7 separate regions of the Homo sapiens genome follow, and regions 1, 2, 3, 5, 6 and 7 are each linked to region 4. Evidence: promoter capture Hi-C in 16 types of primary human blood cells and fetal thymus (Javierre and others, 2016). All regions are on one chromosome and are shown on one strand. The core of a region is centred on a gene start or on the middle of the fragment in contact, and the rest is flanking DNA. Distances in the headings are between cores, read along the strand shown.

The links. The method cuts DNA at HindIII sites, captures the fragments that hold promoters and counts their contacts. A CHiCAGO score of 5 or more calls a contact.
Region 1: a contact is called between a fragment that was not itself captured here and the fragment with the promoter of ZNF862 in region 4, in 1 of 17 cell types (neutrophils). The highest score is 6.1, in neutrophils.
Region 2: a contact is called between the fragment with the promoter of ZNF212 here and the fragment with the promoter of ZNF862 in region 4, in 3 of 17 cell types (total B cells, naive B cells and erythroblasts). The highest score is 7.1, in total B cells.
Region 3: a contact is called between a fragment that was not itself captured here and the fragment with the promoter of ZNF862 in region 4, in 1 of 17 cell types (erythroblasts). The highest score is 5.1, in erythroblasts.
Region 5: a contact is called between a fragment that was not itself captured here and the fragment with the promoter of ZNF862 in region 4, in 1 of 17 cell types (naive B cells). The highest score is 5.2, in naive B cells.
Region 6: the fragment with the promoter of ZNF425 here is called in contact with the fragment with the promoter of ZNF862 in region 4 in 1 of 17 cell types (neutrophils); the score reaches 5.4 in neutrophils.
Region 7: the fragment with the promoter of ZNF282 here is called in contact with the fragment with the promoter of ZNF862 in region 4 in 2 of 17 cell types (neutrophils and total B cells); the score reaches 7.1 in neutrophils.

What each region holds. Positions count from the first base shown.
Region 1 is chr7:149,144,995-149,147,694 of GRCh38, reverse strand. It overlaps ZNF398 (zinc finger protein 398), which reads right to left and starts at 242. Exons shown (of 6, transcript NM_170686.3): 1 at 1-242. LOC107986856 (a long non-coding RNA gene) reads left to right here and starts at 334. Exons shown (of 2, transcript XR_007060581.1): 1 at 334-712; 2 at 1,343-2,700. RefSeq lists silencers at 1-133, 1-437 and enhancers at 1-316, 748-797, 891-1,464, 1,465-2,038, 2,039-2,612. The HindIII fragment of the contact is 4,715 bases long and covers 1-2,700 here.
Region 2 is chr7:149,238,226-149,240,925 of GRCh38, reverse strand. ZNF212 (zinc finger protein 212) reads right to left here and starts at 1,275. Exons shown (of 5, transcript NM_012256.4): 1 at 1,124-1,275. The coding sequence starts at 1,147. RefSeq lists an enhancer at 1,214-1,508. The HindIII fragment of the contact is 6,599 bases long and covers 441-2,700 here.
Region 3 is chr7:150,406,944-150,409,643 of GRCh38, reverse strand. It overlaps LOC728743 (zinc finger domain-containing protein LOC728743), which reads right to left. Exons shown (of 3, transcript NM_001395976.1): 2 at 1,156-2,060. The coding sequence starts at 2,032. The coding sequence ends at 1,421. Among named protein-coding and RNA genes, the nearest start is that of ZNF775-AS1, 24 kb to the right of the region's middle. RefSeq lists an enhancer at 2,646-2,695. The HindIII fragment of the contact is 2,546 bases long and covers 128-2,673 here.
Region 4 is chr7:149,836,942-149,839,641 of GRCh38, reverse strand. It overlaps ZNF862 (zinc finger protein 862), which reads right to left and starts at 1,267. Exons shown (of 8, transcript NM_001099220.3): 1 at 1,007-1,267. The coding sequence starts at 1,030. RefSeq lists a silencer at 732-1,191. The HindIII fragment of the contact is 19,921 bases long and covers 1-2,700 here.
Region 5 is chr7:149,258,313-149,261,012 of GRCh38, reverse strand. All of the region lies in intron 1 of LOC124901769 (a long non-coding RNA gene), which reads left to right. Among named protein-coding and RNA genes, the nearest start is that of ZNF783, 2.5 kb to the left of the region's middle. The HindIII fragment of the contact is 3,317 bases long and covers 1-2,700 here.
Region 6 is chr7:149,125,056-149,127,755 of GRCh38, reverse strand. It overlaps ZNF425 (zinc finger protein 425), which reads left to right and starts at 1,432. Exons shown (of 4, transcript NM_001001661.3): 1 at 1,432-1,560. The coding sequence starts at 1,543. It also overlaps the pseudogene RN7SL521P and a transcript of ZNF398 not described here. RefSeq lists enhancers at 453-502, 1,166-1,717, 1,718-2,269, 2,517-2,700 and silencers at 663-1,102, 1,834-2,007. The HindIII fragment of the contact is 7,753 bases long and covers 1-2,644 here.
Region 7 is chr7:149,194,209-149,196,908 of GRCh38, reverse strand. ZNF282 (zinc finger protein 282) reads right to left here and starts at 1,363. Exons shown (of 8, transcript NM_003575.4): 1 at 1,155-1,363. The coding sequence starts at 1,319. RefSeq lists an enhancer at 296-345 and silencers at 786-1,145, 1,266-1,587, 1,406-1,695. The HindIII fragment of the contact is 5,667 bases long and covers 389-2,700 here.

The sequences.
Region 1 (2,700 bases), core at 64-2,563, 690 kb after region 4:
CGCTGCCACCGCGCCCGGCTCCAAGCAGGCCCGGCCGCCGGGTCCTCTCCACAGGCGGCGCCGACCCGGCCCTGCCTTCCCCGCACGGACGGGACTCACGCGGCCGTCGGGGCTCGGGACGCGCAGGAACGCGGCGGAGGCGCGGTGCAGCAGGCGGCGGATCAAGCTGGGGTCGCGAGGCCGACTCCGCCGCACTCCACCCGCAGCGGCCCCTCAGCTGGCGCTTTGTGGGCAGCGAGTGCACCGGGAACCGCGCGGGCCTAGACGCGCCGCAGGCTCGCGCTGCCCAGCCACCGCGGCCAGCGCGCCCCCTGCCGGCCCCTGCGGCCAGCGCCCCCCGCGTCGCCTCCGCCCCTCCCCCCCAGCTCTTGGGCTTCGGTGTGGGGAGGGTTGTTATTTGGGGCCCACGTGTGTTCCGCTTTCTCACATTCCCACGAGAAGGTTCAGCTCACCGCAGTTTAGGACCCAGCCGCAAAGCCGGGCTCATTCTGGGGAGTGATTTTCTTCACGGAGGCTCGATACGCAGGCGCCGTCTGCAGGCAACAGCTTCTGCTGAAGGGCAGCCGTATTTAGAACAGCGGAAATGTGCAGGGTGAGAGTAAGGGGGACACGGCTGAAGGGAGCCTATGGGTGGAATGAGTGACGGAGAGGCACAATTTTGGAATGAAGAAGATATAGATCATTTGCGGAAATTACAAATGTGGTTGCCAAGGTGAGGCGGTTCAGGTCCCACGCGGCCTGTGTTGGGATCAATAATATTTTAAGGTCTCCTTCACATCTCGGATTATTGACTCTCCGGGGCCTGGTCTGGAAATAGGATTCTTAATTTTTGTTTATTTATTTATTTAGAGACGGAGTCTCACTCCGTCGCCCAGGCTGGAGTGCAGTGGCGGGATCTCGGCTCACTGCAACCGCCTTCCGGGTTCAACCGATTCTCCTGCCTTTGCCTCCCAAGTAGCTGGGATTACAGGCATGTACCACCATGCCCAGCTAATTTTTTTTTTTTTAAGTGGAGACGGGGTTTCACCATGTTGGCCAGGCTGGTCTGAAACTCCTGACCTCAAATGATCCACCCGCCTTGGCCTCCCAAAGTGCTAGGATTACAAGCGTGAGCCATTGCGCCCGGCCTTATTTATTGATTTATTTAGAGACAGTCTCCCTCTGTCGTCCAGGCTGGAGTGCAAGTGGCACAAACAAGGCTCACTGCAGCCTTAAACTGCTGGGCTCAAACGATCCTTCCCCTCAGCCTGCCCGAGCATCTTGGACTACAGGCGCAGCTACCAAGCCCGGCTAATGTTTTATTTATTTGTATTTATTTATTTACTTATTTATTTTTCTGTAGAGACAGGGTCTCGCTATGTTGCCCAAGCTGGAGGAAGTGGAATTCCTGAGAGCAGCAGAGATCGAGCTTGGGGTTACGGTTTGCTGCGTCTGAGCAAAAGGACCTGCGAGAACAGGCCGAGCGCAGTGGCTCACGCCTGTAATTCCAGCACTTTGGGAGGCCGAGGCGGGCAGATCACCTGAGTTCCAGACCAGCCTGGCCAACATGGTGAAACCCCGTCTCTACTAAAAAATACAAAAATTAGCCGGGCGTGGTGTCGTGCACCTGATATTCCAGCTGCTCCGGAGGCTGAGGCAAGAGAATCGCTGGAACCCAGGAGGCGGAGGTTGCAGTGAGCAGAGATGGCAGCACTGCACTCCACCCTGGGCGACAGAGCTAGACTCCATCTTAAAAAAAAAAAAAAAAAAAAAGGACCTGCGAGAACAAAGTGTTTTCTGGTGAGGTTGTGTTTTAAGTCAACAGAGTGTGTGTAACAGCAGTAGGTTCCTTGCCCAATGCACATAGCAAGTCTATATGCAGAGACACCAGGTTGCAGCAGAGAAAGAGGTCTAATCATAGGGCCACCTAAGGAGGAGACAGGAAGAAGCCTCACATCCATCTCTGCTAGGAATTTGGGAATTTGGGGTTAGAGTTTGTAAGGGTAATGGAGTTGACTGATTGGTGGGAGAGTGCTGGTGAAATCGTGGTACAAGGAGATGAAGAAACTACATTCTCATGCTCATCCCATTCCTCTGTGGGGGGTCTTCAAACTGGTTGAACTCAACTGTTTCACCGGAACTCGTGGTCTGAAAAACATCTTAAGCGATCCTTAAACAAAAGCCTTATGATTCTAATGTCAGAGATCCTGTCTACAGGAACAACAGGGATGCAAATCAATTCTTAGTCTGATGTCTGAAATCCTATCTATAGGAACAATAGAGATGCAAATGTCAGTATCTAGTGCCTTGTGACTATTAGCAACAAGGAAGTAGGCCGAAGTGCAGCCTGATTAATGCTTAATTATAACTATATTTCTGTCCAGAACCTGCATGCAATTTTTGTGAACCCTGTTGGGGCGGTTTCATGTGTGTGGTGATAGGATAAGCACATGACCCTGGTTTTCCAGGAAGTCTTCATTTCAAACATGTATGAATCAAACCCTGCTAAACCTGTATTTCAACACATGAATCAAGTCAATGCCCATAACAGTATAACTATCTGTAAATCACAAAAGTATGAGAACTATCCTGTTGGGGCAACTGCTCTTGAGCAGACTAAGTTACTTTTCGCCTGTGGCTACATATGCAGTCCGTAATTTGGGATTTACCTGAATATACATATTTGTCAGATGGTGAATGCTTAATAATGAAAATTGCCAT
Region 2 (2,700 bases), core at 26-2,525, 600 kb after region 4:
AACTTCCTTGAAAGCAAATACTGTGTTCTCTAAGTCTCCCAATCTCTCCGTTCTTAGTTCTTAACGCACTTTCTACAAGAATCAAATATAGCGCACCCTGCTCATGGTCAAATTTTCCCCACAGAATTTCCTTAGCCCTCCATTCTCACAAAGATCTAACATGATTCTCGAAGTGTTTCTAGACCAAGGAACACTTCATTAAAAGTCAATTCAATTCCAGCTGCCCCTTCCGTTGCAAACCCTCTGGTGTTGTTAAATTAACCACTACTTTGAAACAGTATGGGAACAGTATGAGAATGTCGGAGCTGGAAGGAAACTTAAAGCCTTGGAGATCATCTAGCAACTACTCCAACACTCTCGATTTACAGTTAAGAAAACGAAAGAGACCCAGAGAAGCGAACACAGTTGCCTAAAATCACCCAAATGGACAGCTGAAAGCTTCGTGACTCCACAAATAGGATTTTCCTCACACCAAACTCCGTATCTTGACATTCCCAGAATGGGGATGGTCGGTGGGCTGGGAGGGGGGTGTTGGGGGGGGGGTGAAGGAGAGAGTTTGGGCAGCTCTACAAACAAAATGCAGCAACTGCACTGTAGATAACATCCGTCCCCAAGGAGAAGCAGCCCAGGCTGACTTCAACCTGTGGCTGCAACCCCCAGACAGAAATCTGCAGCACTGGAAAAACCGACAACACATCGGACCGAAGAGGAGGTGGTCGCAGAGAGGCAAGTCCTGGGGTCTCCCGGGCAGCGGGAGAGCTCACTCGTAGCGACGGAGACCGTTTCCAATCTGGAAACACTCCAACCTGGGAACGGGCTCTTTTGGCACGAAAGAGAAAATGTGTGGGCAGGGTCACAAATCCACCAACCTAAAGCAAGCGTCAGAGAAGTTTCTGGGCAAGGGCGCACGGCGCCGAGGCTCCGACCCCGCTGCAGAAGGAAGCGGAGGGAAAAAAGGGCAGAGCACTGGGGTCGCGAAGAGGAGGGTCCGCGTTCACCCGCGCCAACGGCAGCCCCGGGAAACCAAGACCCCGGCGGCGTCCAAACCGCGAAGCCCCGCCCCCGGCAGGGGACTCCGCCATCCCCAACGCGCCCTCGAGCCAGCGCGCCGGTGCCTCTTTACCCGAGCAGGCGCCGACTCCGCCATGGCTCCAGTCGCCCCTCAACACCCAGACCCCGCCTCGGAGCCCCCGTGCTGCGTTCCTGTCCGCTCGGCGCCCCAGAGCCTGTTGGAAGCCGCCGCCGCCGCCGCCGTGTTGATGCCAGGTGCATTCTGGGAGCAGCGACCTCCCCGGCACAAGACCGGCTCCAGCCGCTCTTCCTCACTGTGCAGGCTTCCCATTGTGCCCCCGTGCGGCGGGAGGGAGAACGCTGCTTGGCACTCCCGGCCAGAGTGCGGGCACCAGGAGGGCTCAGTCACTCAAAAGTCAAGACCAGGTTCCGCGTTTCAGGCAAAGCCACGGGATCCTGCTGTCTTCCGTATGCCCAGCACTCTGCTAAATGCTTTGAGGGATTCAAAAATGTGTACAACTCAGACTTTTTGCTGAGGAAAGAACATGTAATGTTGTTGGGGAAAAGAAATATGGTTCCAAAAGGCAAGTGATTTTATTCCAAAAGTTCACCTGTTATTTGGCTTTTTAGAAACTGGGAACAGTTTCCATATCAACAGTGTGGAGCGTGGGGTCAGGCCCAGGCCAGCCCTCTGTAGCCTGTTAATTATGGTAATCATGTGCCTTGGAAAGTCCAAGACAACCCTGATTTCAAATATTTCCAGTCCTCATGCTACATGTAAGACGATGTGTCTGGAATTTTTGTTGGAAAGCACGGCCACATGACCATTTAATCGCCATGTACTTAATCCCCAATACCAGCAACACTACGGCAACCATAGCTGCCTAATTTATACCATTGTCTCTCTGGAGACAAGCAATGAACTTCCACTTCACAGGATAGGCGTGAAGTGTTTCCTCTGAGAACGAAACTTTTTTTTTTTGAGATGGAGTTTCGCTCTTGTTGCCCAGGCTGGAGTGCAATGGCGCAATCTCGGCTCACTGCAACCTCCACCTCCCGGGCTCAAGCGATTCTTCTGCCTCAGCCTCCCTAGTAGCTGGGATTACAGGCATGTGCCACCACGCCTGGCTAATTTTGTATTTTTAGTAGAGACGGGGTTTCCCCATGTTGGTCAGGCTGGTCTCAAACTCCCGACCTCAGGTGATCCGCCCACCTCAGCCTCCCAAAGCGCCGGGATTACAGGTGTGAGCCACCCCACCCGGCGGAGAACGAAACTTTTAAGATCATGACTGGCTCCTTCCTCACATGCAGGGCTCAGTTCAGATTCTACATCCTCAGAGAGATATCCCCAGTCCCCCCTTTCTACAGCCCCACACCATCCTCCATCTCAATACTCAATCTCGTTACCCTGCTGGAAATTTTTCATACCATTTATCACCATCTGAAGTAATCTCTCTTTTTCACTCATTTACATATTAATTATCTGTATCTCTTCCACTGAAATGTCTGTCTACTGTATCCTCCATTTGTTGTACACAGAAGTGTTCATATTTGTAAATGATTGAATGGTGAATCAGAGTGTAAGGATATGAAATGTCATCTCAAACAGAGGCATTATTTCCAGGGCAACTAGATCAACGGGCACGTCACTGAATCATTAATAAATCTAGAGAAAGAATGGGCCAGGCT
Region 3 (2,700 bases), core at 151-2,650, 570 kb before region 4:
ATCCTCCCTGCTCCATCGTCCACTTTTTAAGCAGTGAAGCTAAAAGGTTCTGGGATTCAGAATCCAAAACAAAGCCCTGGCTTCCACCTGTTGTACCCCTAAGTACCAACTGTGGTGTAGGCAAGCTTGGCAAACCTGTTTCCTCATCTGCCAAAAGGCTGAAGAGGCCCGTGCCTCAGAGCGCCAGCTTGGAACCAGAGGTCCTGGAGCAGAGTCCTGGCTGCCCCCTTTCTCACTGCCAGACCTTGGCCAGGCCTCTTAGCTGGGGGCCTTATGTTCTCTTGCCCAGATGACCCAAGCCCCTCGAGGCTCCAGCTCTTCCCACATCAGTCTGTCCTCACAGTGCCTCTGATTCTCCTCCTAAAGCATAAGTCTGAGATCATAGCACTCATCTCATTAAAAATCTCAGTGTCCCCACCCCCTGACCACGAAGTCCTTTGTAGGGCAAACCTCCCCTTGGGACACCTGGAGACAGTCACTGAACTATCAGGACCCCCCCTCCCTTGAAAACACCCTTCTACACACTTGCTCTTCCTAGAACAATTTTATTTGTCCCCATGACCTGGTTCAAAGCCATCAAACTCCCCTGGGTGACGAAGAGAAACCAGTCACCCTCCTCGGTCTCACCCCAGAGCACTTTGTAGGTTGGCCCCGCGTCACACACCGAGTGTGAGCACCCCGTGTCAGGGCCTGCGGTCCTCATGTGTGTCTCTGGGAGAGCCCAGCCCGGCACAGTCAGTGGCACATGGTGTGGCAGAATCAACTAAGGCTCTGTGCACCAGTGACCTCACCCTCTCTCATCCAGTAGCTGCAATATATCCCAGCGAGGAAGAGTCCCTCATCTATATCCCCAACTTACAGATGAGTAAACTGAAACATGAAGTGAAATGACATCTCAAGGACAGCAGAGAGTGTGTACAGGAGCCAGGAGGCCTAGGGGCTGAGGTTGGGCGTGGGGTTTGTGGAAAGTGGCCTCTCCAAGTCTCTTTCAACTCTGACATTCTGGGGATGAAGATCCGGTAAGCAGCTCATCACAGAGAAACCTACAGCCCGGTACCCAGACCGCCCCACCTGCCATCAAGAATCAACACCACGCACTCCACCCCCACCACTCCCAGCCCTGAGAGGGGCTCTGGCCAGCCCCGCAGGTCTCACCTGCTCTAGGCCGGATGGGCCAGAGAAGGAGAACCATGGCAGGAGCCGGAAGCAGCTGTGCGCAGCCAGCCAGAGGGTCCCGAGGGAGGAACGCGAGCGGGCGGCCGGAGCCTGGCGGCGGCCCACACCTTCAAGAGCCCAAGCCAGCGCTGCCCCTCTCCCGGGATCCCATCTAGAGAGGGAGCTGCGGCCCAGGGCCATCTCCAGGGGTCGGGGACGCACGTGCGGGGCGGGAAGCAGCCGTCGGCAGCAGGCCCCGGGCGCATCATAGCACGCGTCCTAAGTGGGCCGCCTGGCCCTCGGGCCCGTGGCCGTGGCTGCGCTGATGGGTCTTGAGCGAGCCCTCGCGCGCGAAGCTCTTGCCGCAGCGGGGGCAGAAGTAGGGCCGCCGCTCCCCGAAGACGCCGGGGCGGCGCGGGTGCGGCGCGGGCATGCGCGCGTGGGTGCGCTGGTGGTTGAGCAGGAAGCGCGGCTCGCGGAAGCAGCGGCCGCACTGCGCGCACTGGTGCGGCTTCTCGCCGCTGTGGATGCGCTGGTGCGTGAGCAGGTTCTGCTTGAGGCTGAAGCAGCGGCCGCACTCGGGGCAGGGGAAGGGCCGCTCCCCGGTGTGCGTGCGCTGGTGCACCTCGAGGTTGTGCTTGACGCTGAAGGCCTTGCCGCACTCGGGACACACGAAGGCAGCCGCGCGGCCCGCTCCGGCGTGCGCCTTCTGGTGCCGCACCAGGCTGGGCTGCTGCGAGAAGGTCTGGCCGCACAGCGGGCAGCGGTAGGGCTGCTCCTCTGCAGGGTGGTGGATGACCAGGCCTCGCTCGTCCCCCAGACCCTCCTCCCCGTCCCCCGCAGGGGACCCGCCCCCGGAGGACGCCAGCTCGGTCATGGGCACTTCCAGCTGCAATCACCAGTCCCTAGGGAGACAGAAGCGGGGGCGGGGGTGGGGGGTGGAGAGAGAGGGGTCGGGGAACACGAGGGTTAGCCAACCCCCAGCCTGGCAGGGACACTCACCTCCCACAACCTCCACCTTTCGCCCCGTTTTGTTCAAGCTCAAGTTCCCCTGCTGGGAATTGGTGTTCCTCTTCCTCCACTGCCTTTTAAGCACGGCCTACACTCCTTCCAGTCCCTTCCCAAGGGCACCTTCTCCTAGAAGCCTTCCCTGACCTTTCCACCCCGGGCTTAAACACCGTGTGACACAACCATGTGGCTCTCACTGATCATACTGCACGAGGGTCAGTCATGCCACCTCTGTCCCCCGACTCCCAGCACCCTAAGGACAGAGCTGCCTTCTTTCAACCCCAGCACCTAGCACCATGCCAGCCAGCCACACAAGACACTAGACAGATGGTGATGAGTTTCAGTTAGGATTTTCAGTTTCAGTTTCAGCTAGGATTTTCAGTTACCTTCGTCTAGATATGTCTTATCCCTCCAACCAGATCTCAAGGACAGGGGGAGGTAGGGAAGTGCACCCCAAACTTGGAGAAAAGGGTGGCATTATCAGTGATTTAAAGATATTTTTGTGAAGCTTAAAACAGGAAAAAAAACACAACCCTG
Region 4 (2,700 bases), core at 18-2,517:
GGAAAAACTACAGCATCAAAAGAACCTCATTATCCTTTTCTCTCTTTTCGTGTGGGACAACCCTTTCAGGCGTGTCCAAGTTATTGAAGTGAAAACTGCAGGAGAGCTCCTTGAGAAAGGTGATCATTTCCTATTTATCCTCATACTTCCAGCATCTCGTTCAATGCAAATCACAGATCACAAATGTTTATTAAATGGACAGTTTTTTAAGGGACTCAATAAACAGTCGAAAACGTTTGTTGAGAGAATTCTCCTCTGTGCCAAATAAGAAACAATACTCAAGAACTGGCAGCAAACAACATCCAGAAAGATGTTAGTCCCAAGAGGCTGCCACTGTCTCCAAGCTAATGTGCCCACAACCACACTGGTCTTGGATGACACGGCCTGGAAGCGCTGGCAATCCCGTCAAATCCCTGAACTCCGCCCCCAAGCACTTTCTTTCCACCTTTTCTTCCAACTCAAAGCCTCTTGCCCAAAGCCAATTTATGACACAGGTTTCTAAGCAATGCCCAGATATTCCATGAAGTACATAACCTAGAAACAGAAGTGGCAAAAAGCATGCCAGATGCCCTCTCTTTTCAGCCCTTTCTTGGTAAGGAGGATCTAGGCAGGGTCAAGCCCTCAAGCGTCCCACCCTGCAGCTCCCACTGGCGTCCGATCCAGACTCCAAGCCTTAGCAGGGCCTCTTCAAAACGCCGAAGGTGGTGGGGAAAACAGGAAGCACCTTCGCATCGCTCCACTCGGGGGTCACCCAACCCAGCATCGACCCAGCGGACGCTCGGCAGCTCGGGGAGGATGCGCGGACACCGAACGGAAGCGTCCGCTCCTCTCCGCCACCCTCCCGGGGTCGGGCGCCGAAGTGCGGGAAGAGAGGGCGGGCCGGCGAGTCCTTCCCTGCAAGCCTGGCTCATCTGCGGGGCCTCCGCCCGAGCCGCCCCGCCTCGCCCGAGCCCGGCTCGGGGATCCTCGGGAGGGAGCGGGCGGCCCCCGGGCCTTCCAGTCCTACCTTCCCCGACTCTCTGGGCTCCATGGCCCCGCTTTCGGAGGCCCGTGCCGCCCCCTCCCCCCGCGGCCTGGCCTGAGGATGCAGCCGCCGCGACCGCCCCGGGGACCCAGGCTCCCGGAGGGGGAGGGCACCCAGGTAGGGAGGGAGCGCGGCCCAAGAACTTCGCTCTCTCACGTCGGGGGGCGGTAGCGCCGGTGGACCCAGGATAAGCGCGCTGAGCTGAGACTTGCGTCGCACCGAGCGAACAGCTTTACGGTCACTGCCCAGCCCCAGGCGGCGGGGCGTGACGGGAAGTGTAGTCCGCTCTAGGTGAGCGGCTCTCGAAGCTGCTATTGGCTCCCGGAACGCAGGTCCTGATTGGACGCCGGCGGCGCGCTTGCGACCCTCCCCGCCTCCCTCCGGCGACAGTTACTAGGCAACGGCGGCGTGGCGTCCTTTAGTCCTCTGCAGCAAGGGCAAAGCGCTCTGATTGGGCTACGCGAAGGCCAATGTCAGCCTTGAAGTTCTAGGTTTTCTTTTATTAAGGAGGGCAATACTTTTTGTTCTATTCACTCAAAAAGTATCATTGGTTGCCTACCATGGGTCAGGCCGTGTTCTAGGGTTTGGGAGAACACAGTTGAATGAGACAAAGGCCTTGCCTTCAAGGAACTCACGATCTATTAGGGAATCAGACCAGAAACAGATAATTACAAAACAGAGACAAGGGCTATGAAAGAGGTAAGCACAAAACATGAATTAAAGCCCGCGTTGTCACCTTAGAGTGAAGCGGTGGGGGATATGAGGTGCTTAGTCAAGGATTTCCTGCGGAAGTGATGCCTCAGCAGAATTAAAGCAAGAGGTAGGGTCTGCCAGGTAAAGGAGGTGCAATGGACTGACCGGTGTTCCCCTCCCAGGAGATGGGGCGTTTGGGAGGTTTAGATGAAGTCGTGAGGGTCAGGCCCTTATGGTGGGATTAGTGTCCTTATAAGAAGTTTTGTCCAAGTGCGGTGGCTCACACCTCTAATCCCAACTCTTTGGGAGGCTGAGACAGGAGGATCACTTGAGCCCAGTAGTTTGAGACCAGCCTGTGCAACACAGTGAGAGATCCCATCTCTATAAAAATAAAATAATTTTGTGAGGTGGAAGGATCACTTGAGCCTGGGTGGTCGAGGCTGCAGTAAGCCGGGATGGCGCTTCTGCACTCCAGCCTGGGTGACAGAGCAAGACCATGTCTCAAAAAAAAAAAAGACTTTTAGGGGGCCAGGGCAGGGATGTGCCTTCATGAAGGTGTTAGTGACCACATGCGTGCTGGGGGAACTAGCTAGGCCCTTTGCCCTTCTGCCCCTCTGCCTTCTGCCATGTGAGGACAGAGCAAAAAGGTGCCCTCCTGGAAGCAGAGACCAGGCTCTCACCAGACACAGACACTGCTGGTGCTTTGATCTTGGATTTCCCAGCCTCCAGAATCATAAGAAATAAGTATCCATAATTTATAAATTACCTAGTTCCAGGGATTTTGTTACAGAAGCACATAGAGATTAAGACAATGGTCAACTAATTTTTTTGTATTTTTAGTAGAGACAGGGTTTCACCATGTTACACAGGCTTCAAGTAAGCGTTTTCCATTATCCAGCTCTGCTCTTCTGGCCAAGGTTGAATAGACCTAAATTCCGTTCGAGGAGTGTAGGGGAGTCTGCATTACTGAAAAAAAGAATGAG
Region 5 (2,700 bases), core at 44-2,543, 580 kb after region 4:
AACACAAACTGCAAGTATGCACTAAAGACATTAAGAGCATCCCTAGGATCTTATCAGGGATCAGTCCAATCTATTCAGGATTATAAAATACCAGTAAATGGTGACGTTATAGAATAACAGTTAAGGTCCAATGCAAACAGAAAGGGTCAGGAAAATGGGCCAGGAGCCGTGGCTCATGCCTGTAATCCCAGCAGTTTGGGAGGCTGAGGCGGATGGATCACCTGAGGTCAGGAGTTCGAGACCAGCCTGGCCAACATGATGAAACCCCATCTCTACTAATACAAAAAATTAGCTGGGTGTGGTGGTGAGGTACTCTGGAGGCTGAGGCAGGATAATCGCTTGAACCCGGGAAGCAGAGGTTGCAGTAAGCCGAGATCATGCCATTGCACTCCAGCCTGGGCAACAAGAGCAAAACCCCATCTCAAAAAAAAAAAAAAAGAAAAAGAAAGAAAGAAAGGGTCAGGAAAATGGGCTGGAGACAAAAATGCTAGGATTTAATGAGCTCTGTTGAGGAAAGAGTGCTATAATGTTTGACAGCTAGTCTTCGTTTTTTAGAAAAAAAGTTTCTCTAAGTCAGTGGTACTCAAACTTCAGTGTGCATCATGTTCACTGAGGGTTCTTGTTAAAAATACAGGATGCTAGGCACAAACCTCAACATTTCTAGGTCTGAAACAGGAGGGGATGAAAGTGATGCGAATTTGCAATTCTAACTAGTTCCCAAGAAATGCTGATTCTATTGGTCTGGTGATCACAGTTCGAAAACCTTGGCACTGTTTATCAGGGTCCCACAGCTACCTCCCATTCCCATGCTCAGATTTTATAAATATATTTAATAAACGAACACTTTGCACCATAATGTGGTTTCTGAGCAGACCAGCCGGGGTGTCAAGCCAGCTCTGATATAAATTAAAATTACATGGTGGCTTTTTTTTTTTAAGACGGAGTTTCGCTCTTGTTGCCCAAGATGAAGTGCAATGGCACGATCTCGGCTCACTGCAACCTCCACCTCCCAGGTTCAAGAGATTCTCCTGCCTCAGCCTCCCGAGTAGCTGGGATTACAGGTTCCTGCCACCATGCCAGGCTAATTTTTAGTATTTTTAGTAGAGACGGGGTTTCACCATGTTGGCCAGGCTGGTCTCAAACTCCTGACCTCAGGAGATCCACCCACCTCGGCCTCCAAAAGTGCCGGGATTACAGGCATCAGCCACCACGCTCAGCCTACATTCATCTTTAATTGTTAATCTGTCTCTTGTGAGTTTGTTTTTTGGGGGATCAGATTTCCAGGACCTGATTATCTCTGGGTGAACTGACAACATCCAGTGGAGGCCCAGTCCGTGGAGTAACAAGGGTGACTCCACCTGCAGAAGGTAGGGTTGTCACAATTTGAGGGCCACCAAAGTAGTACCCAGGGTCACTCAACAAGAGGTCAGCACACTCAAGTGCCATTGTCCCCACCAGAACATCCTCAGCCAAGAGATAGTGGCAGGTCAGAGACAGAATTCCTGTGGCTCCCTCATCCTCCAAGCCAGGAATGTAATTTAGATTAGGAGGTGGACCCACACAGAATTATAAAGATGTTAGGAACGGAAGCATTAGTAGAGGGAGACCAGAAGTACAGCCAAATCCCACTTCCTCCATAGAAGCCTTCTCTATTTCAGACAACACCCAGCTCTCTATTCTGTGAACACCCATTATACTTTCTCATTCAGCAAACATTTGCTGAGCACCTATGTGCCAAGCACCTGTGCTGAGAGCTGTGGAGGCTGATAGGAGTAAGACATGGTCCCTCCTGAGGCCAGGCGCGGTGGCTCACGCCTGTAATCCCAGCACTTTGGGAGGCCGAGGCGGGCGGATCACGAGCTCAGGAGATCAAGACCATCCTGGCTAACACGATGAAACCCCGTCTCTACTAAAAATACAAAAAATTAGCCGGGCGTGGTGGTAGGCGCCTGTAGTCCCAGCTACTTGGGAGGCTGAGGCAGGAGAATGGCCTGAACCCAGGAGGCGGAGCTTGCAGTGAGCTGAGATGGCGCCACTGCACTCCAGCCTGGGCGACAGAGCAAGGCTCCGTCTCAAAAAAAAAAAAAAAAAAAAAAAAATGGTCCCTCCATTCCCACAGCATCACATCCTGTGACTGTTTCTTGGTCTTATCTATTGTTCCCTTCCCACTGCAGCTGCACCCAATCAGGTAGGTCCTCACTGGCTCTTCCTTGATCTCACTTGAAACCTTCTAACATATCCCAAACCTCACACCCCCCAAAAAGCACAGTATAATTCTTATTAGTATTCCCAAATCACAGCTAGAATCAGGTCACTCTTTTGCTCAAAATTCTTCAGCTCCCCATTATCAACCGAATAAAATCCAGACTCCTTGAAGCCTGACCCAACTCTTAACACCCACTACTCTCCTTCTCACACTCCACCCTCCCGAAATTGGATGAACTCCTCTTCTGTACATGTCCCATAATGTCTCCTGACTTGGTCATGTCACCTCCATTTAGAATGTCCTTCCTCCCATCCTTAAAAGGCCAGTTCAAATACCACCTATCACGAAGTCTTCCCTAATGTCTCACATCTAAAATAATTGTTCTCTGAATGCTTAAAGCCTTTTACCCTCACTTATCTGAAGACATTACTATTCTATCTTATATTCCCTTAGTAGCCTGTAAGTCCAAGAGCAAGATTTATCCCTGTACCCCT
Region 6 (2,700 bases), core at 183-2,682, 710 kb after region 4:
AAACGTTAGTTTTTTTGTTTGTTTGTTTTTGGTTTTTTTGAGATGGAGTCTCCCTCTGTCGCCCAGGCTGGAGTGCAGTGGCGCGATCTCGGCTCACTGCAAGCTCCGCCTCCCGGGTTCACGCCACTCTCCCGACTCAGCCTCCCTAGGAGCTGGGACTACAGGCGCCCGCCACAACGCTCGGCTATTTTTTTTTTTTTTTTTTTTGTATTTTTAGTAGAGACGGGGTTTCGCCGTTAGCCAGGATGGTCTCGCTCTCCTGACCTCGTGATCCGCCCGCCTCCGCCTCCCAAAGTGCTGGGATTACAGGCGTGAGGCACCGCGCCCATCCGAAACGTTAGTTTTAATGTAAGGTTTTTTTTTTTTAACCCTTTAATCAGTAAGGTGCATCTACATTTCACGATTCCGGGACAAATACAGATGTGCACACGCTCCTCAGCCTATGCAGGGACTACTTTCTCATGGACATCCTTTCTAACTACACACTTTTCATTTGTTACTTTAGCCTGACACCTAAAACATGACTAGGACAGAATGCGAGGTTGATTTTCTGGGGACAGTCGCCACCCCCTTCCTTGCCCTCTCTCTCCTTTCTGTCTCTCCCTGGTTTCCCCTTCTGCGTCTTCCCACCTCTCCCGTTTTTGCGTCTTCGTGTTTCTCACGCCCTGTGTCATGGCCTCCTCCGTCTTCTCCCGCTCTGTCACAGTCTCCCGCCGGGGGCTAGGGGTGCCCGGCCCGCATCCCTGGGCGACCCTGAGTCCCCGCAGGCGGCCCCGAGGCCGGGGTGGCTTCCGCATGGGGTCTCTGCCCGAGGCCTTTCTCTGCCAAGGAGGGAGTGTGGACGCTCGGGGAGCCCAGAAGGGCGCTGCACCCACGGGGACCGGACGTGGTGGGCGGACCCCTCCTCCGCGTCCCCGACGGGACATGCCCGGGGCCCACACGGCCTCCGCGCCCCCGGCGGGACGGACACCCCGGGCCACCGCGCGCCCCCCACCACCTACCCGGCCTCGCTGGATTCCCGGGACCCCCTCACAAACGAAACCCTCGAGCTCATCCCTGACTTGGGGGCAGCTTTGGAAGGAACAGCACCGGACTCTCACCCTCTCGCTGCCTCTCAGTCCGGGTTTCTGTGGAGCGCGTCTCCCAGTCGCTGTCCCTACTCTCTCCCTGTTCCTGCTCTCTCCATGTTCACCTGCCCCTCCGTTTCCCCTCCCGTCAGCTCCCTCATCTCGTCTTCGACCGCATCCCTCGCATGCAGATCCGGGAGTCCAAGGGTCCCTCAAAGACCGGCGTGCTGCGGCCCGCACGGAGGGTGCCCGGGCCCCTCCTCTGAGGACCGACTCCCTCTGGCGGCGCCGCTCCTCCCGCCCGCAGGGGGCGCTATGGGGCGGAGCGGCTTCCGCTTCCGAGCGCCGAGTCCCAGCATGCACCGCGCCCGGCCGGCTCTGCCTTTGGGGGCCAGCAGGGCTGTACCTGGGAGTTGGGTTGGGGCGGAGCGGAGGGGAGGCCGTGCCAGGCAGGGCCGGTTCGTGCGGAACCGCCATGGCCGAGCCGGCTTCGGTAAGAAGGGCCGGTGGAGGATGCAGGCTCTGTCGAAACTCGGGTCCCTGTCGCAGCTGGATTGGGGTCCGCGTCCAGGGAGTGGGGCGGCCGGGGCCTGGGCCTGGGGGTTGGCAGTGGCCCACGGACTGAGCTCCGGGCTGGGCTGGAGAAGGTGCAGTCTTGCTGCGTGTGCTGTTCTGGAATTGACCTGGGGAAAAGCTGGTCTGGCCGGGCTTGGCCGCGCGCGTCTGTGGCCCCGGCCACTCGGAAGGCTGAGGCGGGAGCAGCGCTTGAGCCCGGGAGCTCTGCGCTGTATATGCGCTAGGTCCGTCGCGCGGTGCCTCTGAGTTCTGCATCTGTGTGGTGACCTCTCGGGAGCGGGGACCACCAGGTTCCCCAGGGAGGGGGAACCGGCCCAGCTCGGAAACCGAGCAGGGCAAAACCCCAGTGCTGATCGTTAGTGGGATCGCGCCTGTGAATAGCCACTGCCCTCCAGCCTGGGCAACAGCCAGACCCCGTCTGTTTAATACATAAATAAAAGTTGGTTTGGGAGAAAGAATCCGGGTGGGAAAGATCTGTTTCTCGGCCTGTTGTAGGCTCAGATCAACAACGCTGTCCCTGCCTTCAGTGTCGGGGCTCTGAACCTCGGGGTCTCTCTGGGGCCCGTGCTCTCCTGCTGAAGGTAGTTTCAGAGAAGCACATCAGTGTTAAGCAGATGAGAAAAAGGAGAAGGAAAGCTGGAACTGAGAGAAATTGGAGACCGCTCCCTCTAGGAAAGGACAGAAAACTTAAAATGAATTGGGTGGTTAGCGTAAATCGAATTTACCGTAAATGCTGTAGTATTGTAATGTAGTATTGAAAATTTGAGCACCGGTTTTAGAGTTTGAAAGGCGTATCCTGAGGCTTAATCCAAGAAACCCTGTTACATTCAGTTAAGTATAACTTGCTTAAGTGTGCAAGTTTTTCTTGTGCCCCCAATGAAATTTTATAATCTTAGGAATGTAATGCTCCTTATTTGCATTTGATTCTTCCCTTTTGCTTCCCACTCCTTTTCCCCACCCTCCTTTGGCAGGTACAGATTCTTTTCTGATTTCTCCAAGCTTTGTTTCTACAGCCAGGCTTTCTTTTTTTCTCTCCTCTTTAAGTGATTGGGAATCT
Region 7 (2,700 bases), core at 114-2,613, 640 kb after region 4:
CACTCTCTGACTCAAGAGCAGCCCTGCTCCGGGGCAGACCTGCTCCGGGACACAGCAGAGTGGAGAGCAGGGCCCTAGGATCGCCAGGCCCTGTAATACCAGTAAGAGGTGCTGGTGTTTCCATCAAAAGCACCCATTCCTCCATCACAGAGGCTCCACTCCGCCCTAGCCCACAGAAGGGGACAGAGTCCACAGTAGAAGTTAAGAAAGTCCCGGGGCCCAGTTTAGTTTTCTCGGGTTTGAAGCCCTAACCCTGAAAATGATCAAACACAACACAGCAGCCCCTGGCTCCCTCGTTAGCACCTGGCTGAGAGCCGCGTGGTGAGCAGAGGGGCCCCTGAGCAGCCCAGCCCCAGGGTGGGCCCAGAGAGTCTTCCCTGGGCAAGCTTTCAGGCCTCTCTGAGGATCCACCTCCCCTGGTTTTATACCCAATTCTGGAGCACCGGTTCTGCCCACGGAGATCATCGATGGAGCCTGAAGAAATGCCTGGTGCTACTCTCACCCGTCAGAGACCCTGAGCTCTGGGACCAGGCAAGGGCTCAGGAGTCTTAAAAGCTGCCCAGGCCATTCCAACATGCGGCCAAGTTTGTCAACCGCAGGAAAGACCCCGAAGTCATCTCTCCATGGCCCCCTCCCTGGATCACACCCGGTGCAGGGGGAGAGTGAATTACTCATTACACTTGGTGAAAGGTGGTAATCAAACATTTAAAAAATATCCCCGTCAAATTGGCCACCGTGTAAACACGAACGAGGCATTCACTTCTGCGGCCGGGCGGAAGCACTGCCCGCGAAGCTCTCCGCCGGCCGGGCGCAAAGGGAGCCCCAAGCCGGGGCTCAGCCACAGGGTCAGAGCTCTGCCAGGTCCCGGAAAGGACGGTCCCGGCCCCCGCCCCGCGGGGCCTCCGCACTTGGGCCCGGCGACCGCTGCTCCGCGCCGCGCGGGCCAGGCCTGCCCTTCCGGGCCTGCGTCGGGCCCGCTCCGTCCTGCCCGCCGCGCAGCCCGGCCGTGCCCCGCCCGCCTCGGGCCTCGCCTGGGCGCGGAAGCTGGGAGGGCGCCGCAAGGCTACCGGAGGACGGCGCGGCCCGGTCCCGCGGCCCAGCCCGCGCCCCGCCCCCACGGCAGCGCGGCCATGGCGCCGGCGGGGTTCTCCCACCTGCATGGGCGGCATTCCCTCGGCCATTTCCCCGCGCAGCGCCGGCTCCTGGTGGCAGACCTCCTCCGGGGGCAGAGCCTGGGCCCAGCTCCAGCTCCCGCTGTCCAGCCCCAGGCCCTGGATGCCCAGCTGCTGAGGCTGCGGCCGTGTTGACACAAACTGCATCCTGGGAGTGCTGTTCCCCGCTCGGGTCGGCCAGGGAGAAGAAGAACGTTTTCCAGGCGCCTTCCCCCTCTCCGGGGCCGGACAGCTCCATCTACAGCCCGTAGGAGCAAACAGTCCCCTTCGGCGGCGCTCCCCGCCCCTTGGCAGCCCGCGCGCCAGCCAATGGCCTCGGAGCTCCTGCCCGCCTGCGGGGACCTACCGGGGCCACTCCCGGACTGGGGTCGCCACCGCCCCAAAACTGAGAGGCGGCGGCCTCGCCCAGGGGTCAGGCCCCCTCAATCTGGGATGGCCGACTTTAAAGGCCCAAACTATGCGAGGACCTGGACTGTGGGCTTGATTACTGTTAATTCTGCAAATGTATTGGGCATCCCGGGAGAAAATAGTGCCTGACCCTTGTGAAAATTTTGCAGGAGTAATTCTGTCTTCAGACACTTTCTTCTGGCCTTCTGCCTTCCCTCACTCCTTTGCAGACTTTACCTCCCACTCCCCTTCTTCCCAATCCAGATTTACCTGGACCCATCCCAGAGCTTTTGCACTGTTATGGATGATAGAGAAGTGATTCATGTTAAGGTGTCAAAAGAGGGCTGAGCTCTTTCTCCCAGGTAAGGTGCAGTGCATTTTAACAGTGGCCTCTTCAAACACCTTGAAATTGGGTTGGGCGTGGTGCCTCACACCTGTAATCTCAGCACTCTGAGAGGCTGAAGCAGGAGAACGACTTGAGCCCAGGAGTTCGAGACCAGACTGAGCAACATATTGACACCCCATCCCTATAAAAAATAAAAATTAGCCGAGCGCGGTGGCTCACATCTGTAATCCCAGCACATTGGGAGGCTGAGGCAGGCGGATCACCTGAGGTCAGGAGTTCGAGACCAGCCTGGCCAACATGGTGAAACCCCGTCTCTACTAAAAATACAAAAAGATTAGCCGGGCGTGGTGGCGTGGGCCTATAATCCTAGCTACTCGGGAGGCTGAGGCAGGAGAATCGCTTCAACCTCCGAAGCGGAGGTTGCAGTGAGCCAAGATCGCGCCAGTGCGCTCCAGCCTGGGCAACAGAGCGAGACTCCATCTCAAAAAATAATAATAAGGCCGGGCGCCGTGGCTCACGCCTGTAATCCCAGCACTTTGGGAGGCCAAGACGGGCGGATCACGAGGTCAGGAGATCGAGACCATCCTGGCTAACACGGTGAAACCCCGTCTCTACTAAAAATACAAAAAAATTAGCCGGGTGTGGTGGCGGCGCCTGTAGTCCCAGCTACTCGGGAGGCTGAGGCAGGAGAATGGCGTGAACCCGGGAGGCGGAGCTTGCAGTGAGCCGAGATCGCGCCACTGCACTCTAGCCTGGGCAACAGAGCAAGACTCCGTCTCAAAAAAAAATAATAAT